2 separate regions of the Homo sapiens genome follow, and region 2 is linked to region 1. The links are contacts of gene promoters, found by promoter capture Hi-C in human tissues and cell types (Jung and others, 2019). All regions are on one chromosome and are shown on one strand. Each heading gives the region's core, a stretch centred on a gene start or on the middle of the fragment in contact. The rest is flanking DNA. Distances are from core to core; before and after follow the strand shown.

The links. The method cuts DNA at HindIII sites, captures the fragments that hold promoters and counts their contacts. A contact is called where the count stands out against the background at its distance.
Region 2: a fragment that was not itself captured here is called in contact with the fragment with the promoter of TOX in region 1 in 2 of the 25 tissues and cell types used here (lymphoblastoid cells and small bowel).

What each region holds. Positions count from the first base shown.
Region 1 is chr8:59,116,407-59,124,264 of GRCh38, reverse strand. TOX (thymocyte selection associated high mobility group box) reads left to right here and starts at 5,118. Exons shown (of 9, transcript NM_014729.3): 1 at 5,118-5,379. The coding sequence starts at 5,278. TOX-DT (TOX divergent transcript) reads right to left here and starts at 5,055. Exons shown (of 3, transcript NR_149031.1): 1 at 4,980-5,055; 2 at 4,194-4,308; 3 at 787-3,929. RefSeq lists a silencer at 4,374-4,593. The HindIII fragment of the contact is 9,409 bases long and covers 1-6,724 here.
Region 2 is chr8:58,843,560-58,851,417 of GRCh38, reverse strand. All of the region lies in intron 4 of TOX (thymocyte selection associated high mobility group box), which reads left to right. Among named protein-coding and RNA genes, the nearest start is that of NSMAF, 190 kb to the right of the region's middle. The HindIII fragment of the contact is 4,434 bases long and covers 2,515-6,948 here.

The DNA.
Region 1 (7,858 bases), core at 3,869-6,368:
CAATATCAAAATATGGCTGTGAATCCATTTCAAAATAAGATGTAGAGTGTACAAATAAACCAGAATTATCTTTCCTTTGTATTACTCTGGTTTTCTTTTGGGCCCCACTTCACAGGAAAATATGAGCCTTGATTATCCATTCTTACCAAAATATCATTTACTAAGGCAGGAATATTAACTCAGGTAAGCAAAATGATTGTTTCTTTCATCTCAGCAATTCCACACTTACTCCCCTACCAATTGACTTTTTATAGAATATTAGTTTGCATTAAAAAATCCATTTAATTGCATTGGAAAAACACTTCACTGCCATGCTCCAGGCCGATACCATGTTGCAGCTGCTCCTATTTAAGGGATAATTGTAGCCTCACTCTTCTACAAGGAACTAATTCTGATTTTGAAAGGATTTGTCCTCATAGTTTATCCTGATGAGAGAGGACTGGATTATTGCCGTGTAAAATAGCTGAATAGTCCTATTATAGCTATTATGTCACAAATGTTGTGTATTGTTGAAGATCAAAGTACTGTACCACACTCAATGGTGAGATGTACAAGCATGGCACACTTCCCAAATTATGTAAAAAATACTGCATTTTATGAGTCATTTAGTACCATGTGAGCTATCTGTGGACCTGTTTCATTTCCCTCAAACTTTCCTCATCATTCTGAAATCCTTTATTTTCTGGTAGAAAGACTTACAATCTAGTCATTTCTCACTAGTCTCCCCAGGAAATAAACTTCAGTACTCTGCATTCTTCCATTGAAAGATATTACTTATTGCATATCATTCCATTTTACATTTAAATTACTTTAGAAAAATGTTAAATAACCCTGGACAACAGTAAATGCTAACTGGTAAATTGAGAACATGTAAACATTTCCCATGAAAACCATTAATGATGTCCTTTTGAATTTAAAATGTATAGCACTCAGGATTGGCTAGATTCTAAGGAAACAAATAGCTACTTCACCATGTAACCTCATTGGGTATACACATGTCCAATGAGGGCTTAAAATCCTAGGTGGGCCATATGAGGTATAAAATGAATGGTATTTTAAAAGAATGAGGCTTTCTTTTCCCTAGAAATATTGCGACATCAGCTGTCACTGGAAAACTAGCCCATAAATCAGAAAGGCCAGTGAAGGGCTAAATATTAATTTAGTTATACAATACGGCAGGCTTTGATTTTAGTTTTAATATCTGGCATTTCAAAATCAACCCCTCTATATGACATTTCATTCTCATGTGCATCTATAGAGGGCTTCAACCCTTGAAGAAAAACTAACTCCAAAATCTAGCAAAGAATGCCTGCCAGGAAGTACCATGGTTTGTTGAATAATTTTTATAAGACTCTTGTAAATCACAGATAGGATTAACTGTCTAAAAGCTATTTTCCCCAAAGTAACACATTCTGTATGTGATTTGGAGACATTACTACAAGATTTAGGACTTAACCTACATAATACAAAGAATCAGTAGACATAAAATGTGGTCACTGAAAACAAGTATAAATTTGAAAACGTAACAATTTGTGAAACTATAATTAAAGTGAAGATGGGCAATGTTGAGGGAACAAAATCAAATGCTCCGTGTGGTTTGTAATTACTGATGAGGCTTTCCAAAGTAATCTGGAAAATTAAATAAGACTGCGAAATTCAATGTAAAGAAATTAGGACCAGGTCCACGATATAGTAGGCATTTCACAAGTAGGTACTGATAGCATTACATCAGCACTGGTAAAGACACGTTTTGTTTACAGGCACTCATTTTCTGGTAACTAGAGTACATAAAGTTCCTAGGTCAGGTGAATAAACTGTAACCTGGACCTTTACAAGTCATGCAAGTTTACTGACAGTAAATGGGCAAATTGCCAACTCCATCTCTAAAAGGCAGCGTAGGTGATGAGGTTTTGGGAGTGGTGATCCTCAATGTCCTCTTATGGGGATCAACACAAAATGACAATCCAGCCTATCTACTAAAATTTCATACTTTTAACATTTCCTTTGTTAAGGACTCTTTCCTTCTAGACTACCTTATCTTTCCTTTTAGGCCAGTGGTTCTCAATCTTTTCTGAAAATTAAAGCCACTGGAGAGCTTTTAAAAATTCCTGTGCTCAGGCCCTACCTGAAAAGAACTGAATCAGAATCTGTGCGTGTGGGGCTCTGGCATGAGTATTTTTCTAAACTGCTAAGATGACTTCACTGACCAGACTAGTTTGGAAAATACTACTCTGAAAGACTACATCTAGAGCAGGAACCATTTTAAGTAATTTGTTTTGTATTTTAAACCTATAAATAATACAAAGCATTAGTGTTTTTCACCACTCTCTCTGTTGATTAATGTACAAATGAATGAGTGAATGGACAAATAACTATTTTATTTATCCATGATGTGGAGTTGAATGTCCAGGAAACTGAAAAGTATTACAATGATGCTCTATTTTATTTTCTAAATTAAGAAAGATTTGCTCAGAGGTTTAGATATTCAACTTTCCCCAACTTTTAGTACAAATACATCCATTTAGTTTTTGATGGGCCTTGGATACAGCATTATAAAGTGAGCATTTTTTCAGATTACACTGAGATGGCCTCTCTTTGTATAAGTGGCTAGAAGTAAGAACTTTTTCCCCCAGTAGCTCATATTCCCACCTATCACACCATGCCATGTACAGTATACCACTTTAACTCCATACACTCCGATGGAAGAAACCAGACTCTTGATTATGTAGAAGAATGCACAGGTCTCATGCATTTGGATTTTCCCTTAAAGCAGAGAAAACTGGTAGGTCTGTAGAGGAAAGCAGGAGATATCATTATCTCCCAGGAGTCAAGATGCAGATAATGGTATTGTTCCAGTCTTGAACCATTTCATTTCATCTTCCTGATGTTCACGAGGCCATCAAACAGACATCAATGATGAATTCCAAGAAAGTTTTATTTTTAAAAATCAAGTTTTGATATAATAAATGTTGGATTGAGGATAGAAATTTAAGCTGAGAAATGTTTAATTTGGACCTAAAAAAGTTTATTATTACTATTATTATTGTGGAAGGAAATACATACAGGCACATTTTAGTATCTACAACAGTATTTGGGAAGCTGTTATGAAACACAAAACTTCATTTAAATTTTATTATAAAGACCTTTATTAGGAGAAAGGACATATTTTCTATTTCTTACTTTTATTTTGTGCCTTGAAGGACTTGTGAATGTATAGAATAATTATTTTTTCTTACTGCTTCCTCTTTGCAACCCAACCTCCACCAAGTCAATCGTGAAGGTAGGAAGAAAGCTGTATTTCTGTTACTTTTAAAAATGATAACGAGAAGAAATTAAAACAATGGCTTAAGAGAAAGAGGATGTAAGGAGTACAAAGCAAAACTTAACAAAGAGTTAGTAAAGGAACTTGCATTGACAATTCACTCAGCCATGTTAATTTTATCATTAATACTGTCTTCATCATTTTTTTTTCCAGGTCTCTCTGCTCGTATTTGCTTGGTGCTCCGAAATGCACGGGAACAGACAGCTATGGGAAAGCTGCACAGAGCAGTTGGCAATCAACATGTCCTAGAAGGGTGTGTGGAGTAGCAAAACAAGTGGAACGGATGAAGAACTTCCAAGCTCCTTCGCAGAGTTTTGGGCCCTAGTGTGCAGGGCTGCTCCCTCATGAGATGGAGGACAATGTCGCCCACACCTACTTGGACCTCTCACCAAGGACACTGCCCTCAGAGATAAATCTGTTGGACGGCAGCCAAGAGACCCCAAATTGTCTCAACCTCCAGGACACGGCAAGTTGCAAGTTTCCGAGTTGGGGAGGCAAAGCGGGAAAACATGTTTGGCGATTTCCTCCTGCCACTCACCGACCGGAGAAATGGGGAGGCGGACTCCAGGTCTTTCGTGGACTGCCAAGAGCCCTATAGGGCGTCCAGCTATAAAAAGAGAAGAATCCCATGAAGGACAACAAGCAAACTCATATGTTATCCCTTTAGCCGGATTGTGTGCTGATGATTGTTTCCCTATTTACACTTCGAATCACCCCTGTGGTCTTTTGTGAGTCCCCAAGGCAGCCTCAGCCTTCGCAAACCGTCCAGTGGGGCACGAATCTCGGAGGGGTGCGGGCTGCAGGCGGCAGAGGGAAGCCAAAGAGGGGCGGCTTTTCCAGGCCGTCCACCCCCAGGCGAGCTGGTCCTCACCCTTCGATCGGCTCGAGTCCCTCGGACAGTTGCCCACTCACAGCGTGCAAAGGGGTCGCACTCCCTGTGGGTTCTCCGCCCTCAGAAGCGGCGCTGCGCAGGAAAGTCACCTCCACTACGGGCCGGGAGTAGGGAGGGGAGCACAGTGACAGGGTTGGGGAACAGCCGAGGAGGAGTGGGGGTCGCGGAGATAGGGGTGGGGACGGCCGCGGAGAGGGCGGTGGGAGTGGGGTGGGGCCGGGGAGGGCCGGGGGCGGGGCTGCGGGGCGGGGTGCGCCACAGCGCCCCCTAGCTGCGCGCTCCCCACGGTGCCCTGAGGCCGCTGGTGGCTCTGGCTCGGCAGCCCCTTTGTGTGCGACGCGCTGGTCCCGAGGAGCGCGGCACGGGCACAGCGGAGGCCTCCCAGGGTCCCACCGCTTCTGTCCCAGCCAGGCCGTGCTCTCCTCCTTCTCCTTCTCCGCTCCTCCTTTCTCCGGTCCCCGGCCTCTGGTTCCGAACAGCAGCCATTGGGCCTTGACGAGCCCGCGTCCGGCCGCGCTCCCTACCCCGCCCGGCCCGGGACGCTCGCCCCCCTCCCGCCCTGTCCCTTCTGGATCCCCGCCCCACCCCCCCACCCCCCACATCCCGGGCCTCCAAGGTGGAGAAAATAAACTACAAGCAGAACAACTCAGAATCTCCAATAAAACGCCCAGTACCTAGAGCCCGAGCGCGTGTGCCGGGCTGCGAGGGGCGCGGGAGGCGGGGATGGGGGGGCGGGCGGGGGGGACAATGAGCGCATGAAGTTACCTGCCCGGCGGCGGCGGCAGCGGCGGCGGCGGGACCAAGAGGCGGCGGTGGAGCAGGCTGCGCGCTCGGCGCCGACGGGTGCGCGCCGCGGCTTGGGGGAGAGTTGAGCGCTTTTCCCCCCTCTTTTTTTTTTTTTTCCTCTTCTTCTTAAACAAACCACAAACGGATGTGAGGGAAGGAAGGTGTTTCTTTTACTCCTGAGCCCAGACACCTCACTCTGTTCCGTCTAAGCTTGTTTTGCTGAACACTTTTTTTTAAAAAAGGAAAAAGAAAAGGAGTTGCTTGATGTGAGAGTGAAATGGACGTAAGATTTTATCCACCTCCAGCCCAGCCCGCCGCTGCGCCCGACGCTCCCTGTCTGGGACCTTCTCCCTGCCTGGACCCCTACTATTGCAACAAGGTGAACGCTCTGCTTTTGTTTCCACCGTGTTCTTGCTGCTTGATCCTGGGAGGGGAGCGGCGGTGGCCGGGCCGCGGCGGGGCCGGCTTGGCGGAGGCCGGTCCCGGGCGCGCTCGGCTCGCAGCCCGCTGCAGCCTGCGTGCGCTTGGGTAGTAAATATTGTGGAGTAGCTCCGGGGGCTTGCCAAACACCGCGATTGTGCGGAAAGTGACACGATTTGCTCGGATTCTTTCCTTCCTGCTGTTCGCGGCTAAGGATCCCTGCCTAGGTTTGCCGGGGGGCGTTTAAAAAAATAATAAGAGAAAACCGTGGAATACTTTGGGGGTGTGTCTGGGGTCCAGGAACGGAGGCAGAGTAAGAGAATTCAGTTTATTTCCCAGTTCCCCCTTCTCTCTCCCTCCCTCCCCGGGCAGTGGGGGCTCGTGGCACCACTTCCCTTCTCCGGATTAGTTGCCAGGGGAGCAGCCGGGAGTCGGGGTGCAGGGACCTGGGAGGCGCCCCTGCCCCCCACAGGGAAAACTGCCCCACAACTCTTTTGTTTTCTCAAACCGGTTCCGGCAGCCGAGCCCGGGTTCGGACACAGGTCCGCGGGCCAGAGCACAGCGGGGTAGCTGGGTCAAGGTTTGGGGAACAGTTCCTGTTTAAGGGGTGCGCGCGGAAATTGCAAGTTTGTTGGGAGCCGGGCGAGCACGTCGCGTTCAAGTCCAAAGCTCCCGCACTCGCGGAGCAGGGTCCGCGGCTGAGCTGTACCCACGGCCCGCTGACCTCGGGTGCCAGGGCCGCGGGGGCCCGGGGAGAGGCGGATCATGCCGGTGACCCGGAGGTGGGGCGCTGGCCTGGGCTGCTGCGGAGTTCGGCTGGGTCCACCTATAGGACAGTCAGGGGGTACGAGGGAGGGGGTTACTCTCCCGGCTTCTCGAACTCTCTCATCCCAGAGAGGGAGGACACGCAGGGACCGGTCCCCCAGAGTGGTCGCAGGGGCACGACTGCCCACGCCTAGGGCTAGTTGGACGTGTCTAAGCAGTCCCGTTGGATGAACGTTGGCAGAGAGAATTGAGTTCTCTAAAACGCTGGGCGGGCCTTTTAGACGCCCAACTCTCGCTTGGTGATAAATCTGCCTGATACTCACAGCCCCTGCAGGCACATCCATGGCGACCCTCGGTGCATTCCACGGGAAAAATCGTTGGGACTCCCAACATTTGCCTGGTGGCGAGTCATCACCAAACGGCTTTTTTACCTGATACAGAGATATTTAGTGCGCTGCCTTCTCAGCCCTGGACTCCGCACCACGCGACCGAGTCGCAGCTCCGAGTCTTGGACAGTGTTGACACACAGGCAGGCTCTCACACACACACTTCCCCGTGGAGAAGCTCCTCGATGCTGTGTCCAGTGTGAGACCCACTCAAAGGACTGTGCTGTGTGCCGATGGTGTTTAGGCAAGTTAGAAAAGAGGGACATCCAGTCTTGAGCAAGGCAGAAGGGCTTCCATTGTACAGGGAGCCCTTCAGCTACGGGCAAGTTGAAAGGTACGGGGAACTTTGGCAAGCGCATAGGAGTTTGTGTGATGAAGTTTCATTATTTGCTGGTGACATAGTTCTTTTAGTCTAAAATCTGTTTTGTCTGTACACTCAAGTATTGTGTTACGTTTTATTTTGCTTATGACACCAATACTATTGCTAATAAAAAATAATAAAGTTGCAGCCCTATCTTGGAGAGTAAAGACTTATTCCACTGTAGTTACCGGAACCAAAAGCTCAGAACTATTTTGGCAATGAGACTGGACAAATCTTATTAAGTTTATCAGTGATTTTAGGCCCCAAAAAGAAGTTAATGACTTGGATACACATTTCACTCCTCGTTCTTGTGATAAGTAGGGTCAGATTTAATTTAAAAGTTAAATGCTTTGGAAAATCAGGAATTACTTCAATATATTAAATCATTTTCCAATTAAGTGCTTTAAATAATTTTAGTGGGTTGTGCTGTGAATTGAATAAATTAATTTAGAAAGTATTCAGAATTTCTTTACTAGCTCATTGAAGTTCCTTTTAAGTCACCCCGTGTATAAGAAGCAAACTGTTCTTTTTAAATGCAAATTAGGCACCCTTTCTGTAGACTAGTTGCGAGTCTTCTATTTAACTTATCCAGAGAATAATAGATTTTTTAAAATCCAAAGTCATAAGACATGTTTCTAATAGTGGAAGAAGACTTCATGGAAATGTTTCTCCAGGGACATCTCTGGCCCATCTCTGTGTAGCAGTCCATCAGATATATTTGTCACTGGTCCCGATTATATTAAATGTACTGGATAGTTTTCTAGGCCCCACAAATCCCAGGCACTTGAGTTTTTTCACTCCACCATGATTAGCATTGGTACAAAATTTCTGTCCAGCTCCACAATTGTAGTTGTGCATAATGCAGTCAACTAGCATTTGTTTTTGCAATGACATGAGTGGATTTGCAGGGAAATGGAAGAAGGACA
Region 2 (7,858 bases), core at 3,482-5,981, 270 kb after region 1:
AGACACCTGCTTTGTTAATGAAGCATGAGGTTACAAACATACTGGATTAAACCACCTGCTTGTCCAATTACACTTTAAAGCCCCTGAGAAATCCTTTAAATATAGATGTGTTAAGCGTAAAAGTTGTTTGTGCCCACAGAAGGTTGGGCCTGTATATTCAATGTACCATTTTAAGAAGGCAGTATACTGGGGTACAATGAAGGTCGTGTGTGTGTGTGTGTGTGTGTGTGTGAGAGAGAGAGAGAGAGAGAGAGAGAGACAGAGAGAGAGAGGAGATGTATGGTGATGATGTTACATGAAACCTTTGTGGCCACCTGACCCAACCATTTCATATTGAGGACGTGGAAAGTAAGTGCCAGGGATATTAGATGACTCCTTTCCTGGGTGATTCATTGCATACCTTTTGTTAACGCCTTACCAATATAGTTGTTTATTTGTGTGTCTGTCACCAGCAGAGCCATTCTTTTAAGTTATCTGAATAGGAAGATGGGTTTTATGTCAGCCACCTTTTCTTCTTTTTACCATTGTGAGAATTTTGTTTTTGGAAAATTAAACTGTAAACATGCTACCAAAAGCAGCGCTGTGCAATCCTGATATACATGGTTAACTTTCTAGTAGCTTCGCTAAATTTTTTCAGTCCAGATAGTGATTCATCGATTTATTTAGCCTGATGACAAAGATAAGATTGCTGCATTGACTATATTTTCCTATTGTTTGTATTCTTGATGTTCTGGCATTTGGAGCCTTAATCCTGGAAATTCAGGGCTAGCTAATTTTTAGAGATTGCAGACGACACTCTGCTAGCCCCCTTTCTATAAACAAGCCAACAATTCACAGCTGCACCCCAAAACATCTCCTTTAAAAACTCTCACATATGAAGCCAGTATTCCCTCTACCCTACATCGCCCCTAGGCTAAGTGTCAGACAACTAGGGATCACTCCTTACAGCCCATAGCCTGCCAAAGTTATTCAAACTATCCAGTCCTAGGCTTACTCAGCATGCCAGCCTGCCTTGCCTATTCCTGCCCACAAAATCCCCAGTAAAGGCTCTGGGCATGCTCTGTCTTCTCCCTCTTTCTGTCTCCTGGCCAACCTGGGTACTTCCCTAGGTGGCCCTGTGGGCTCTGCTGTGCCTTCTCTTTCCAGGGATCTATGAATGGAAACTTCTTCCTCACAATCATCATTTCCATGTTTTCTGTCTTACCATACCTGACTGAAACAAATCCCAAGTACGTTTTAGAACAGCTGCAGAATCTAACACTGCCCAAGCCAATCCCTCCATCCTTACTGTCTCTCCCTGTTGTCAGTGAGTCAGCCTCTCATGAGTTAGGTGAAAAGGCAGGAAGAAACTAATTGATATTCATAAATAATTGACTGGGTTGCTGAAAGCCTTGCCTTTAGCTGACCATTTCCAGGGCAATAATTTTCTTCAGAAAATACAGGTTATTCCAATGGCTCCAGGTACTCATTGGCTGTTAGATTACACCTAATGGCCAATGAGTACCTGAACCCAAATGTGAACACTAATAATTTGTTTGTGGACAGTGATTTAGATTTTGATTATGCATGAATAATTCAAGTCAATTTGCTAAACACAGATGATATGTACTATATTGTAAGGCGAAAAAAATTAATGTTCTGCTCATAGTAAAGATCAATTTTTGTATCTGGATTGTGTCTTTATCAGTATTCATTCCTGACATTTCAGGAAATTAAATGCAAAATTAGTAGCATCCTCTGACAGTAAATTGTATACCGGATTATTCCTAATTACAATAACATTTTTCACAGTCTTCCACTTATATGAGTAGAAGAGTAGGTAGAAATCTGAAATTCATAGAATTAACATTCATGGGTTCTGCCATTTGCTATTAACCTGTTAGGTCCATATTTTGTAATTTTGCTAAAGCATGAATTTACATGTCTCCATGCTGATATGAAACTTTGCCAGTGGGTATCCTATTCAATCATTCAATATCCACATCTTGAAATAATTTATAACGCTTCATTTTAGTGGACTGTGTAAGCATTGCATAGTAAAACTCATATTCTATAGTGATAGATTATTGAATTATCAATGCAGGAAAGTTTAGGGATTGATTTCTAAGACTGCACCCATTAAAATGACTTTTTTATCTGCACAAACATTCATACGAATTCATGTTAAGTTTAAGTGTATTTTCCATCTCAAGAAAAGTAACCCTTCATTCCAATTCTATGCACTGTTTTTCACCTTGTCTCCAATTCAAATCCTCCTACTCATTTATTTGAGTTATATTATTATATTTATTTAAGCTAGAAAAATCCTCTGATGAAAATGTTAAAGCATTCTTCATTACAGTTAAGGATTAAACTGGATTTTTTCCTTTATATGTGAGTAGGATTTATGTGGAATGTTGTAGTGCAACAGCTCCAGTTAAATGTGAAATAGCATTAAGTCAAAAAGATCATTTAAATCATTTCTAACAAGTGAACTAAACAAGAATATTTAGTTCCACACCAGAAAAAGCTTTTAAAGCTTTCCTCTTAACACTTTGTGCTGTCTTTAAGCAATTATATATTGATTCCAGCTCATCTAATTGAACAATTAAATGAAATAAGTCTGTTTTGACAGACAGGAATATTGTAAATACATCAGTAAAATAAATTATCACCTTATAAACACTACCCGCGATTTTGATTGCTAGGAAACTGTGTTGACAGCCTTAAGTCATAATGAGACACAGTAAAGCATCAAAGAAATACAAACTTAGGCAGCTTGTGGTTCTAAGCCTGTAATCCCGTATTTGTAATATAAGAGATACTTTAAGACACATAAAGTATCTGACATTACAATCACATTTTTGGCACAGTTTTCTCTTTAAGGAAATTGTGGGTAAGAATCACATTATATATTTTTCTATCCTTTTACTTTCTGCTTTTCTGTTGAAAATATCCATGTTTTATCTGAGTGTCTCTTATAAATTTCGTGTAGTTAAATGAGCTTTTACTTTAAAATGAAATCTTTACTGCATTTACCTTACTATAAATATGAAAATAGGCTTGTTTTTCTAAGTATGTTACTTTCTGTTTATGCCACAAATATTTTATGTTTCTTTTTTTTCCTCATCTTCTTTAAGATTGCTCTTATTTTTCTCATTACATAATTTCCCATTTTGAGATTAGAGATTTTATATTCTTTCTCTTCTTTCAGTAGCTGTCCCTGGAATACAGCTATATAGAGGTCTAAAATTTACCAATATCTTTACCTTTTTTCTTAGATTACTTTAACTACATACACCTTCCGTTCAATTTATATTGGGAGCTGTTATTGTTGTTCATTCTAATTATAGTTTAATTGAATTCTGTAACTGAATAAACCTCATGAAACACTATTTTAATTATTTTATGAAGTTATTTTTCCTTTGGATTTATTCACATATATATTTCTTTCACCTGACATCTTTTTCTTTATGCCTTTAAAATGTTCTTTCATGAAGGTCTGCAGGGAACATGCTTACCTTAAAAAACACATTTGCTAGGTATAGAATTCTAGATTGGCAGTTATTTTCTTTCAGCGTTTTGAAGATATTATATTATTTCACTGAATCCTTGTTTTCACTATTGCTTTTGAGAATTTACTGCCTGACTGTCTTTCCTTTGAAAGTAACCTGACTTTACTCTCTGACTGCTTTTGAGATCTTCTCTTGTCTTTGGTGTCCTGCAGCTTCATGGTGATATGTGTGGGTTTCTTTGCATGCATTCCGATTGTAATCATTTCTGTCTATCAGCATTTTGGGGAAATTTTCATTCCTTATTTTTTTCAGATACTGCCTCTATCCCATTCTTGCTCCCTTCTCATGCTGTTATTCTCAGGGGATGAATATTAGACTTTCTCCTTTCCATGACTCTTTTTCATATTTTCTACTTCCTTGCCCCTATGTATTACATTCTGATTTAACTTATTTTCCAGCTCGTAATTCTCTTTTCAGCTATACCTAATCTGAAATGGTCTATTGCAATTTTAATCTCAAATATTTTATATTTTTGGTTTCATTTGGTTCCTTCTCAAATGAGTTTGGACTTCTTTCTTTAGTTGCTTGCTCTTTACCCATGTATTTAATCTCTTTTATTCTTGTAAGCATGTTCAACATATTTGTTTTATACCCTCTTTTGCTAATTTCAATACATGAAGTATTTTGAAGTCAGAATATGTTGGTTTTAATAGCTTGTTTCATTTTGCTTTTTGTACTTTTGAAATGAGAATTAATATTTATGAAAACTTTGTAAGAATTCTTTTAGAGCTTGTTTAAAGGTGGATTTCTCTGGGGATGATTTATATTTGTTTCTGCCACATATTTTGAACCATTAGAATCAAGAACCACACTTGGCCTGAATTTTTCAGACCACCCACATAGAGTATGTTCAGGCTACAAATCTTGCAAATGCTGGCTTTTGTTTGTGAATGAACACAAGAGATTTTGTTCCACTCTGCATTTGTAACAAGGTTCCAGAGCAGCCATTCTTGCATGTTCTGGGAGGTCACATACAAGGGAATGTTACTTCACCCTTGCACTGACAGTCTAATCTTTTACGTCTTGATTTAACAGGACCACTCCCATTACACATCTTGCTTTTGGTAAGGCATGGGGTTTGTCTTCTGTCTATTGCACTCTTAACTCAAATTCACACGAGGTTCAACAATATCTTCAGTATGAAAGCTGCCTTTAATACACGCGTCGTCTCTGAGTTCACTTCGTTTTTGCCTTTAAGAGTTTGTTACTAATTTGCTAGTTCATCAATGCATGTGCTCTGCCACACTAGACAGAAGCAGGAGGTTTTTTTCTCAAAGCAAATAGGATAAATCACTAGAGCAGCAATTAAATAAGCCTTTAGAGTAGGAGTTTTTATTTACCACTGCTCTGAAGACAAGAAGACTCCTGGAATAAAGTAGAAATGAGAAACAGACAGGTTTCTACAAATATTAAGTGAAATCAAACAGTGTTAGAACCAAATGTCAGGTTACTTTATCTAACTAGCAATGGGACAGAATACTTAAAACTGGGACTTGGAAGTCTGGTATTGTCATCATTGAACTGTACTTATATTGTAACTGTTCACTTTATATAGTATAATGTGTATGATACTTTTAAAGTATGTATTAGATCACAGCAATTAAACTAATGTATGACCCTTATTTATTTTAAAAAAAAAGTATTCTATTCGTTAAGGCTGAGCCTAATAAACTAGTTCAGGAGAAAATGATAAAATTTAGTCAGCCATTTAGTACCTGGTTCCAAATCATCTTTCCTAAAATTTATTCAAGTAAATAATTATGCCAGGATATAGACATACCCTAGATGACTGAGCATACTTAATTAATTCATGGAATAAAAACAGAATGAGACTTAACATAGCCGCCTAGCATTTTATTCAGCGGGTCCCCACCTCAACAGCTTGCCTTCTTTGTAAGCCTGTAAAAGCCCTCAATCCAAAAGAATAAGAAGTAAACATATTTCCCTACATCAGTGAATTTAGAAAAGATCAAGTGGATCTCCTAAAATTGATAAATTTAACCAGTAGGTGTATAAAATAACAACCAACCTTTTTTCTCTTTAAAAAATCACTTTAAAGTGATTTTTCTGGACATTAGCCCAGACTTCCTATTTCACATAAGGCCGCTGAGTGCCTTTGCTAAACTCATTCAAAAATCATACTCAGCTATGTTTGGCAGAATCAAAGATCCTTAAAAATGAAATTGCTTTACAAACTATGACACTGATACAATGCCCCACACTTGTGAATCATTTCAAAAGTATAGCACTTCATATGCATTTTTCTATAATTGATGTTTTGAGTCATAGAGTGTATCGTTATTAAAGATAATAATAAACCCAATTGTAAAATGAAAGAAGTATTACAGCCTTGCTGATTTCACAGTAACTAGATGACTTACTTTCCATGCTTATTTGAATTTATTCTCATAAGGGGATTTTAGATGGCATAGTTTAGAAAAGAGAGAATGAATTTAAGTAGCAAAATTTTCACTCACTGAAACATCACAAAAAGTGCTGTTATATGCCCTGTTTCTATGGAGAGGAGTTTATAATATTTACTTTATATGATAAGAGTTATAAGTGGAGTTCTATGTTGTTTGTTCAGCCTATTATGCAGATGGTGCTTGATTAAAATCTATTTTAAACTACAGCGATTACTGCAAGATAGTGTGCATTAAACAGCTCTCCCAGCTCCATTAAAGGCTTTGGGACCGCGGCAGTTTATTTTAAATATGCTTATAGACGTTTCTAACTTCTCCAGGGACATTTCAATATCAGTGATTCTCTTTCTTTGATAGTCTTAACTCCTGTGCTCTGGCTTCTTAAGAAATACTGTTATCTAAGCAACACCATTAGCACATGCTTTTTTAAAGTGAAAGATTATTGTTTTCTTGTGATAAATAAGTTAAATACATCTCTATAATTAACCAATAAGACATGACAGGGGTGAATTACCAGAAGCCTTCAGGCACCTCTAGGGATTTGAGAAATAAATCTATGTCTTACGAGTAAGTTACATGAAGCACGTGTATCTGTGTAAAGCTTATGTGTAATATTTATTTATAAATAATATTTATTTAGGTATTTGTGCACTTATGTATTCGTTAGTGCTTTAACTGATGGTGAAATCAGTGCGTGGGTAATCAGGGCGACATTTAGGGCCTCAGCTCAGCCATGTTTTAGTTGCTATGATTTTCATACAATTTCTATGTTTGTTTCAAATTTTCTTTGCCTCATAAGTCTAAGCCTCTGCCCACTGCTGTAGAATACCAGAGCAGAAATGTATAATGATCCATTGCATGTAAAACACTGTACCGATGCTATGAAGGACGTGAAGATTAATGGGACCTGCTCCTTACTTTCAATGTGCTTGTCATCATAAGGAATTCACATTTGTGCATTATATGGTTTCTTCCATATTCTAAAGATTATGATGGAATAAAATTTAACTCTCCAGTCTTAGCACCCTGGTAACTTTACAAATACTGTATGTACTCTAGAGCAGTGTCCAGTACAAAATACTGTGCTGTCTAATCCAGTGACTTCTAGTCATGTGTGACTGCTTCCATTTAAATTTAACCAATTAAAATTAAATTTAGAAATTCAATTGCTCAGTTGTACTAGCCACATTACAAGTGGCCTATAGCCATATGTGGTTAGCAGCTACCCTTTTAGACACGGCAGAGAGCATATCTATCGTTCTAGAAAATTTTACGAGACAGTGCTGCTCTAGACTTTAAAAGTCAAGTACTCTCAGAAAGTTAGGATTTAAAATTATAAGCTTCCATCCATCTATGCAAGAAGTCCGGATCCAGACAATATCCAAAATTAAGGTCCAGGGACAGATTATAAATCCATTTAGCTAATTTTTCTACCACAGTCATATCTATCATCATTGTGTTTATCCCAAATAGTTTGTGGTCATAAGAGCCAAGTATCTTTCAAAGTGCATCCGTTACTGACATGAAAATGGATCCAAATTACAGCAGCATTTCTGTCTTCAAGGAGGCTTTGGACACAACAATGATCATGTGTTTTTCACACATGTGATGAAGCTACTTCCAAAAGTAGGCCTTACAAATTCCCAGTTCATTACACAGAATCTAAAATGGCAGCTCATTTCTGCATCCTTTCCACACAAGAAAAATGAAAAATAAAAAATAAGATCCCCACAGATCAGGGGACAATGCCCAGTGTTCATAAGACAAACAGCTTTATATTTCATAGAGCAAAGCCCAAGTACTTGGGTACATGAGAGATCAAACTACAACAAGGAGTTTCCATTCCATTCTATTGCATTTATAAAGAGCAAAGATATTATG